Regions from separate parts of the Homo sapiens genome. Here all the other regions are linked to region 1. The links are contacts of gene promoters, found by promoter capture Hi-C in human tissues and cell types (Jung and others, 2019). All regions are on one chromosome and are shown on one strand. The core of a region is centred on a gene start or on the middle of the fragment in contact, and the rest is flanking DNA. Distances in the headings are between cores, read along the strand shown.

What was found. Contacts are between HindIII fragments. The study calls those that stand out against the background at their distance.
Region 2: a fragment that was not itself captured here is called in contact with the fragment with the promoter of PHYH in region 1 in 2 of the 25 tissues and cell types used here (dorsolateral prefrontal cortex and lymphoblastoid cells).
Region 3: a contact is called between the fragment with the promoter of NMT2 here and the fragment with the promoter of PHYH in region 1, in 1 of the 25 tissues and cell types used here (aorta).

The regions. Positions count from the first base shown.
Region 1 is chr10:13,298,801-13,301,500 of GRCh38, reverse strand. It overlaps PHYH (phytanoyl-CoA 2-hydroxylase), which reads left to right and starts at 1,437. Exons shown (of 9, transcript NM_006214.4): 1 at 1,437-1,533. The coding sequence starts at 1,459. LOC124902377 (a long non-coding RNA gene) reads right to left here and starts at 1,312. Exons shown (of 2, transcript XR_007062056.1): 1 at 1,095-1,312. RefSeq lists enhancers at 1,111-1,250, 1,827-2,447 and a silencer at 1,431-1,850. The HindIII fragment of the contact is 22,205 bases long and covers 1-2,700 here.
Region 2 is chr10:12,187,252-12,189,951 of GRCh38, reverse strand. The region is part of intron 1 of NUDT5 (nudix hydrolase 5); the gene reads left to right. Among named protein-coding and RNA genes, the nearest start is that of NUDT5, 7.3 kb to the left of the region's middle. The HindIII fragment of the contact is 4,727 bases long and covers 1-2,700 here.
Region 3 is chr10:15,167,246-15,169,945 of GRCh38, reverse strand. It overlaps NMT2 (N-myristoyltransferase 2), which reads left to right and starts at 1,253. Exons shown (of 12, transcript NM_004808.3): 1 at 1,253-1,443. The coding sequence starts at 1,334. RefSeq lists a silencer at 1,054-1,883. The HindIII fragment of the contact is 12,871 bases long and covers 1-2,700 here.

The sequences.
Region 1 (2,700 bases), core at 188-2,687:
GTCCCTGAAAAAGAAATTCTTGGCCCTTTTAAGGGCTTGTAACTCTAAGGGTCTACGTGAAAGTTTAGTGAGAGATCGAGCAAGCGTGGGGAACATGACTGGGGGCTACAGGCAACAGCTAACAGAACAGAAAGTTTTGCAATGCTTCCTCATACAATGTCTGGAATTTTTATTTATTTAATTTATTGATTTATTTTTTATTTTTTTTGAGACGGAGTCTTGCTCTGTCGCCCAGGCTGGAGTGCGGTGGCGCCATCTCGCTCACTGCAAGGTCCGCCTCCTGGGTTTACACCGTTCTCCTGCCTCAGCCTCCTGAGTAGCTGGGACTACAGGCGCCCGCCACGACGCCCGGCTAATTTTTTTGTAGATCAGGTGTTCTCACTATGTTACCCAGGCTGCTTTCGATCTATAGCGATCCTGAGCTCAAGCGATCCTCCTGCCTCGGCCTCCCAAAGTGTTGGAGTTACGGGCGTGAGCCACCGCACCCGGCTAAAAACCTGTTTGTTTGTTTGTTTGTTTGTTTAGAGACGGAGTCTTGCCCTGTCACCCAGGCTGGAATGCAGTGGCGCCATCTCGCTGACTGCATCCTCCGCCTCCCGGTTGCAAGTGATTCTCTTGCCTCAGCCTCCCCAGTAGCTGGGATTACAGGCGTGCGCCACAACACTCAGCTAATTTTTGTATCTTTAGTAGAGACGGGTTTTCACCAAGTTGGCCAGGCTGGTCTCGAACTCCTGACCCCGTGATCCGCCTGCCTTGGCCTCCCAAAGTGCTGGGATTACAGGCGTGAGCCACCGCGCCCGGCAAACTTTTTGTTTAAATCGGAGATTTTATTCTTTCAGCTGTCAGTGGAAGGAGCAGTCACGTAGGGTTAAACAGATGGAAGCCATGACGTTAGGAGAGTGAGTGAGGTCCCAGCCCAGCCACTTGTCACTGTGTGACCTCGGCCTGGTCACTGGGCCCCCGAGCTTCGGTGCGGCAGGGAGGGTCCTGGTGATGGAACAGAAACAGGGTGCGGGGCAGGGGTAATGACTCACGCCTGTAGTCCCAGCACTTTGGGAGGTCGAGACGGGAGGCGGGGGGAGTTTGAGACCCACCTGGGCAACGTAGCGAGACCCCATCTCTACAAAAAATAAAAATTAGCCCAAGAGTTCAAGGCTGCAGTGAGCTATGATCGCGCACTGCACTCCAGCCTGGGCGACAGAGCAAGATCTTGTTTCTTTTTAAAAAGAAAGAAAATAAAGGACGGAAGGATCATGGTGTGGGGAGGACTTCAGCCCCGGGCGGTTGCCCGGCGCGCGGACTCTAGCGGACTAGGGCTCCCCAGCAGCCCGGCCCGCGAGCTGGCACCGCCCGGAATCCCGCTTACGTCCAGTCCGGGGCGGCGCCTGGAGGCGGAGCCGCCCGCTGGGCTAAATGGGGCAGAGGCCGGGAGGGGTGGGGGTTCCCCGCGCCGCAGCCATGGAGCAGCTTCGCGCCGCCGCCCGTCTGCAGATTGTTCTGGGCCACCTCGGCCGCCCCTCGGCCGGGGCTGTCGTATCCTTTGGGCTGCGCGGGGCTCGGGCTGGATCCGGCGCCGGCGCCGCCGCCTGAGTGGTGGCCCTGGTCCGGGTGGAGGCCTCGGGGTCGCACGCTTCGCAGCCCCAGCGCCTCCTCGCTCAGCGCCGCGTCCCCGCCTGGGTCGCGTCTCTTCCAGGAGCCGGGGAGCGGGGAAGAGGCTGCGTCCCCCGAGGACACGCGCGGCCGCCCTGGGGTCGGGGCAATTGCCGCGTTGCCCTGCCCTCCGGGATCCCTGGGGGCCTCTGCTCCTCTCTTTGTGGAGACGTCGTTTCACCGGCGGCGCGTGACCCCGGCAGCTGTCCAGAGACCCAGAGATGTCCAATCACAGGCGCACGGTGCACAGGCGCGCAGGGCTGCCTGGAACCGGCCCAGGCAGGCAGTGACCGGGACCTCTCCGGAGGGGAGAGGACGGTGCCCTCCCGGGCAGGAGCTGGCCAGGCAGGCGCTGCCCAGGGCGGCCTCCCTGCTGGACTACGGCATTGCCACTGAGTTATATAAAGACACTATTTGGGGAAGGACAGCGGGTGAGGACTGGCGCGGCGGCACACGCCTTGCCTGTTGTCTCGGCTCTTCTGGGGGCCAAGGCCAGGAGTCCAGGGTTACAGTGAGCCGTGATGGCCAGTGCGTTCCAAAAGAGAGAAACAGAGAGAAAGAAAGGATAACATGTTAATTGATGAGAGTGACATTCCGAAAGTAACCGATTAAGCTAAAGAAACAATGCAATTCTATGTCAACTCTCTGCAGTTACCGGATAGAAAGGAGATCTTTAAAAGGAATTTCTAGGGTTTTGCTTTTTTGGTTTTTTTTTTTTTTTGAAACAGGGCCTCACTCTGTCACCCAGGCTGGAGTGCAGTAGTGGTACGATCTCGGCTCACTCCTGGGCTCAAGAGATCCTTCCACCTCAGCCTCCTAAGTAGTTGGGACTACAGGGTTGCGCCACGATGCCAGGCGAATTTATGTTGTTGTTGTTATTGTTGTTATTATTATTATTATTATTATTATTATTATTATTATTATTATTTTTGAGACGGAGTCTTGCTCTGTGGTCAGGCTGGAGTGCAGTGCCGCACTCTGCAATGTCGGCCCACTGCAACCTCCGCCTCCCAGGTTCAAGCCATTCCCCTGCCTCAGCCTCCCAAGTGT
Region 2 (2,700 bases), core at 25-2,524, 1.1 Mb after region 1:
ACTGCACTCCAGCCTGGGCGACAAGGCAAGACTCTGTCTCAAAAAAAAAAAAAAAAATTGTAGAACACTCAACATCGTGTACATGTATCTTTTTCATACCATACACATATTGGCAATATGCAAATTACCTTAAATTCTAACTAATGAAGTGGATAAAATTTATATCAAAGTTTGCTTTTAAATCTTGAAATAGCGTTGAGTCAGTGAAGGCAAACTCCGTTGCAGTGGCGGAGACGCTGGCTTACAAAGCACGGAATTTAAAGCTCATTTCTCGTTCTTTCTGCAGCGTGTTGCTGGCAGTGACTGGCCCCCGAATGGCACTATTTGGCTTCTGCTTTTGAAATGGTGCTAAAAACAACATTCCTTTTCTGTTTCTAAAAATTTCTGAGGTACTTTTACAGTCCTTCTGAAATGTTTGGGAATCTCATAGTTAAGAATATGCTCTTGAAATAGCTCATTTTTGTCATTCACGGAATCAGTGGATTGCTGCACGATACTGTTTCCCTTTGAGGCTGATTGCATTCCAAAGAAATACTCTCTTTTAGCGGCCAGGCACGGTGGTTCACGCCTGTAATCCCAGCACTTTGGGAGGCTGAGGCTGGTGGATCACCTGAGGTCAGGAGTTCGAGGCCAGCCTGCCCAACATGGCAAAACCCCATCTCTACTAAAAATGTAAAAATTAGCCGGGTGCAGTGGTAGGAGCCTGTAATCCCAGGTACTCGGGAGGCTGAGGCAGGAGAATCGCTTGAATCCGTGAGGCAGAGGTTGCAGTGAGCCGAGATCATGCCTTTGCACTCCAGCCGGGCAACAAGAGCGAAACTCCATCTCAAAAAAAAAAGTTTACCTAATAAATTATCATCTATGGTACTTTCAAAGGAATAAGTGCCTGTTTTCTTAGTAGGGCTGCAGGTTTCAATATGCTAATGTCTGTCTCTAAATATTTAAACTTCTACGTGGTTTACTTCCTTATTGCTTTCAGGTCTCCATTCAGAAGTCACCAAATTAAACAGGCCTTGCCTGATCACTCCGTGTAGATTACTCTTCCCATCTTCCCCACACTTCTCATCCTTTTTAATCTTTCTTCATGAAACGCTGAGTCACTTGACATAAATTTTGTGTTCTTCCTCACTGTTTTTCCTTTCTCCTCACTGGAAAATGAGGTCCGGGGGAGTGAGGGTCTTTGTCCCTCTCACCACCACTTTTTTTTTTTTTTTTTTTTTTTTAGATGGAGTCTTGCTCTGTCGCCAGGCTGCAGTGCAGTGGCACGATCTCAGCTCACTGCAACCTCCATCTCCTGGGTTCAAGCCATTCTCCTCCCTCAGCCTTCCCTGTAGTTGGGGCTACAGGCGCACCCCACCACGTCCAGCTAATTTTTGTATTTTTAGTAGAGACAGGGTTTCACCATGTTGGCCAGGATGGTCTCCATCTCTTGACCTCGTGATCCACCCGCCCTGGCCTCCCAAAGTGCTGGGATTGTAGGCGTGAGGCGTGAGCCACCGCACCCGGCCTCACCGCCACTTTCCTAAAACATCATCTCACCTTTCACAGGTTGGCCACAAGGGTTACCTATGATAGTCAATCAGATATTTGATTTGTAAACGCACTTTATGAATATTCATACAGTTGGTTTTGTTATTGATTGTATTTTAGAATAGGGAAGCTTGCTGTCTTGGGGACAAATTGAAGATCAGATGGGTAGTATGATCACTTTGGGTCCCAGAAGAAACAAAGAGCAGACTCACTTTTTCCTTTAGGACAGTTGGGAAGAGAGTTGATGCTGGGTGGGCTGTATTTTCTTTGAAGCCGAAGTTAGGTGGGGTAGGTTAGAGAACCGTGGAACGTAAGAGTGCAGTGGCGTGATCTCGGCTCTCTGCAACCCCCAACTCCTGGGTCCAAATGACCCTCCTGCCTCAGCTTCCTGAGTAGCTGGGACTACAGGTGCCCACCACCACACCCGGCTAATTTTTTTATTTTTTATTTTTGTGGAGACAGGGTTTTGCCATGTTACCCAGGCTGGTCTCAGACTCTTGGTCCCCCAAAGGGCTAGGATTCCAGGTGTGAGCCACTGTGCCTGGTCCAAGTAACAGTTCTTAAAAGAAACAACAGAGAAAACACAGGGGAGGAAATCATCAGTGAAGTCGTTCAAGAAAAAAATTCCCTGTAAAGAAGCATAGTAAGAAGTTTCCAGATTGAAAGGACCCACTTGACTTCCCAGTACAATAACATCGACATGAAAGTGACTAACTACAAGCTTCCAGAGGAGGAAGACAGGTCACATGGCAAAAAGATCAAGAATAAGAATAGCTTTGGACTTCTCAACAGCAGCACCAGAAGTAAGACAACTAAGCAATGCCTTACAGTTTCATAGACAACTGGCTTTGGGTCTATAATTCTATATACAGCTGAATTAACAACCATGTGTGTGGGTAAGAAAAAAAGACTTTGACCTTCGGACAGGCAAGGTCCGAAAATGAAGGAATAAAGAAAGAGGAAATAATAATATACAATAAATGGGATAAGGGCCTGCTCTTTTCATAACAGAACTTGTAGTACTACTCGATCCTTTCTCTGCAACTATGACTTTGATACATGCTGAAACTTAAAAGTAAGTGGGGAGGTGGGTCCAGTGGCTCATGCCTGTAATCCCAGCACTTTGGGACACCGAGGCGGGAGGAGGATCGCTTGAGCCCGGGAGTCTGA
Region 3 (2,700 bases), core at 4-2,503, 1.9 Mb before region 1:
GACCCACACCAAAAAATTCAGGTGGCTCTTTAAAGTCTCATTTTCCTCACTGAGCGGGTTCTGATGATTATCTTTGCAAAACCACTGCGGAGACTTCCGGTGGCCTAGCAGCACATTTGAACAAGATCATCTCAGCAAAGCAAAGGACAGGACTGCTCTGTACAGAATGCAGTAGCAAATAAGAGAGGCTGAACTTCACCGGTCTTCTATTTGGCAGTACTACAGAATGCCTCCCTTCCCTCTTCTGAGAGAGACAGCGGACAATTTCAGCACAGAAGGCCGTGCACGTTTGCTTGGAAATCTAGGTCATGACCTTGACTTTGGGAAAGCCAGGGTAGCCTACCTGAAACTGTCCAATCCCCCAGCATCGTGGACACGTCCCCAAGTCCCTCAAGATGTCTGTTCTGGTCTGAGCCGTCCGTAGTAGTGTCCAGGGAAAGCAGGGGTAGCTCAAAAATTTCTGTCAAGAGTTTTAGTGCTGCAAGCCTGGTTGGGACAGGGCGGTGGAGGGCTGGAAATACTGTTTTTGACTTTGAATTTGATTTTATAATGTATTAGATGGATAGATAGATGCGAAATGGAATTGTTAACATGTATGTGGAGGGGCGGGAAGAGTTTCTGGAAAGCCCCATCCCTGAGTGCCTACTCCTGAGTGGGAAAAACCCCTGCACGGGCTGGGAGCGCTCCCTAATTCGTCCAGAAGTAAAATCGCATGGCCTGTGTTCCAAAAATGCCGCCACTCAGGATGTCAAGTCTGCACGTTTGCAGCTTTGAGAGCCGAGCCCCAGGCAGAGGCACCGCGCAGGCCTGGATGTACAGGACTCGGCCCTGTGCAGGGCTGGCCAGGGTGAGCAGGGTTGGAGCTGGCGGGGCGGGGAGGGGCGGGGCCATCTGGGAGGGGCTGCGGCGGTGGGCGGGGTTAGAGGGCGGGTTTGAAGCCGGCAGGGTGGGGAAAGGCGGGGCTGGAGGGGAGGGGTCTCAGAGGCGGGCGGGGTTAGAGAGCTGGATTGAAGCCGGCGGGACGGGGAGAGGCGGGGCTTGGTGGGGAGGGACGAAGAGGTGGGCGGGGTTCAAGCCCGTGGGGCAGGGCGGGGCCGGCGGGCAGGGCGGGGCCGGCGGGCTGGGCGCGGACGGTGAGGGGCGGGGATGGAGGGCGGGGCGGGACGGAGGGCGGGGAGGGGGCGGGACGGAGGGCGGGACGGGGCGCGGGCGGGGCGGGGCGGGGCGTAGCGCCCGGGCTCCGACTCCAAGCAGTACGGCGGGAGGCACTAGAGGGAGCTGCGGCCGCTCCGGCCCGGCCCCGAGCACCGCCTCCCCAGCCAGCGCCGCCGCGATGGCGGAGGACAGCGAGTCTGCGGCCAGCCAGCAGAGCCTGGAACTGGACGACCAGGACACGTGCGGGATAGACGGGGACAATGAGGAGGAGACGGAGCACGCCAAAGGGTAGGGGCGGCGCGCTGGCGCACCGGGCGCGACAGGGCGGGGACCGCGCGCGCCACGGTCTCCCGTTCGGGGGTGGCTCCCAGGACTGGGGGTTCTTCGGCCGCTCCGCCCCGCGATGGCTTCTCCGTGGCGCGGAGCCCATGGTGAGGTCCGGGGCGCGCGGCTCGCGGGAGAGTGCAGTGCGCGGGGAGGCGAGGCCCGGGGTGGGCGGGGAGGCTGGGGCCCGGGCGGGGAGACGCTACTGTCACTTGCCGCGCGCCCCCGGCCAGCCTCGCCCATCCCCGCCGGCGGCCTGGCCCAGGAGGCGCCTGTTGCCCTCGCCCGCGGGTGGCTCCGGTGGGCGCCGAGGAGAGGCGCTACGCCCTTCCCTTTGTGGCGGCCGCAGCCTGGGGTAGGAGGTCGCCCTCCTCTGCTCCCTGCCATCCTTGTTAAGTCCCTTCAGACTCCCTCTCCGCAGCCGCCACCCGAAAAGAATGGGCAAAGACGTGGGTGGAGCGGCGTGGAGGTGCCCCGATGGTGTCGGGGCCGCAGGCGGCGAACTGCGCAAAGTTCTGGCGCCGAGGGGGTCCCGGGCCCGGCCCCTGCTGGGGATACTGGGCTTTGCACCGCCTCGCCTGTCCCTAGAGCTCTTCAGAGCAGGGCCGATCCCCTGAACCGGGCTCCCGCTGACCTGGCCGTATCCTGTTTGCAAAGCTGGTATTTGATCTCCAAAACTCGATGCACCACGCATTTTCACACTTGATCGGATTTCTTAATCCTTTCCCTTTGCCCCCGAACCCTGCAGACTTGATTTGCTCTTCTGTTGGAGAAAAGGATTGCTTCAGGTGAAGGCCGGTGTTGATGCTCTCTTTTTAGAGGCAGTGGGTCATTTTAAATAAAAACTGGTGTCCTTTTAAAGTGCTGTTTACATTACCCTTTTACCCTATTGGATTCAAACTATGCGCTGGCACAGAGCGGTTCTTGCTACACCCTTAGAAGTGAGATTTTTCGAACCATGGTGAGTGATGGAGAAGTGGGTCAGCTTAAAAAACATGATAGGGAGGCCTGAGTCACAGATGGTTTACTCAGTTCGTAGAGAGATTCTTGAAATGATTGATCATTGAAAGTGTAAATCATTTGCATTCTACTTGTCTACTTTAAGATTTATTATAGAAAGGGACTTTTGACTGACCTCTAATTCATTATAAAATATTAACAAATGAAGAAAAAGAAAAGCTGACTATGTGCATCTCCCATTTGCAAGTTGTTTTTATCTTT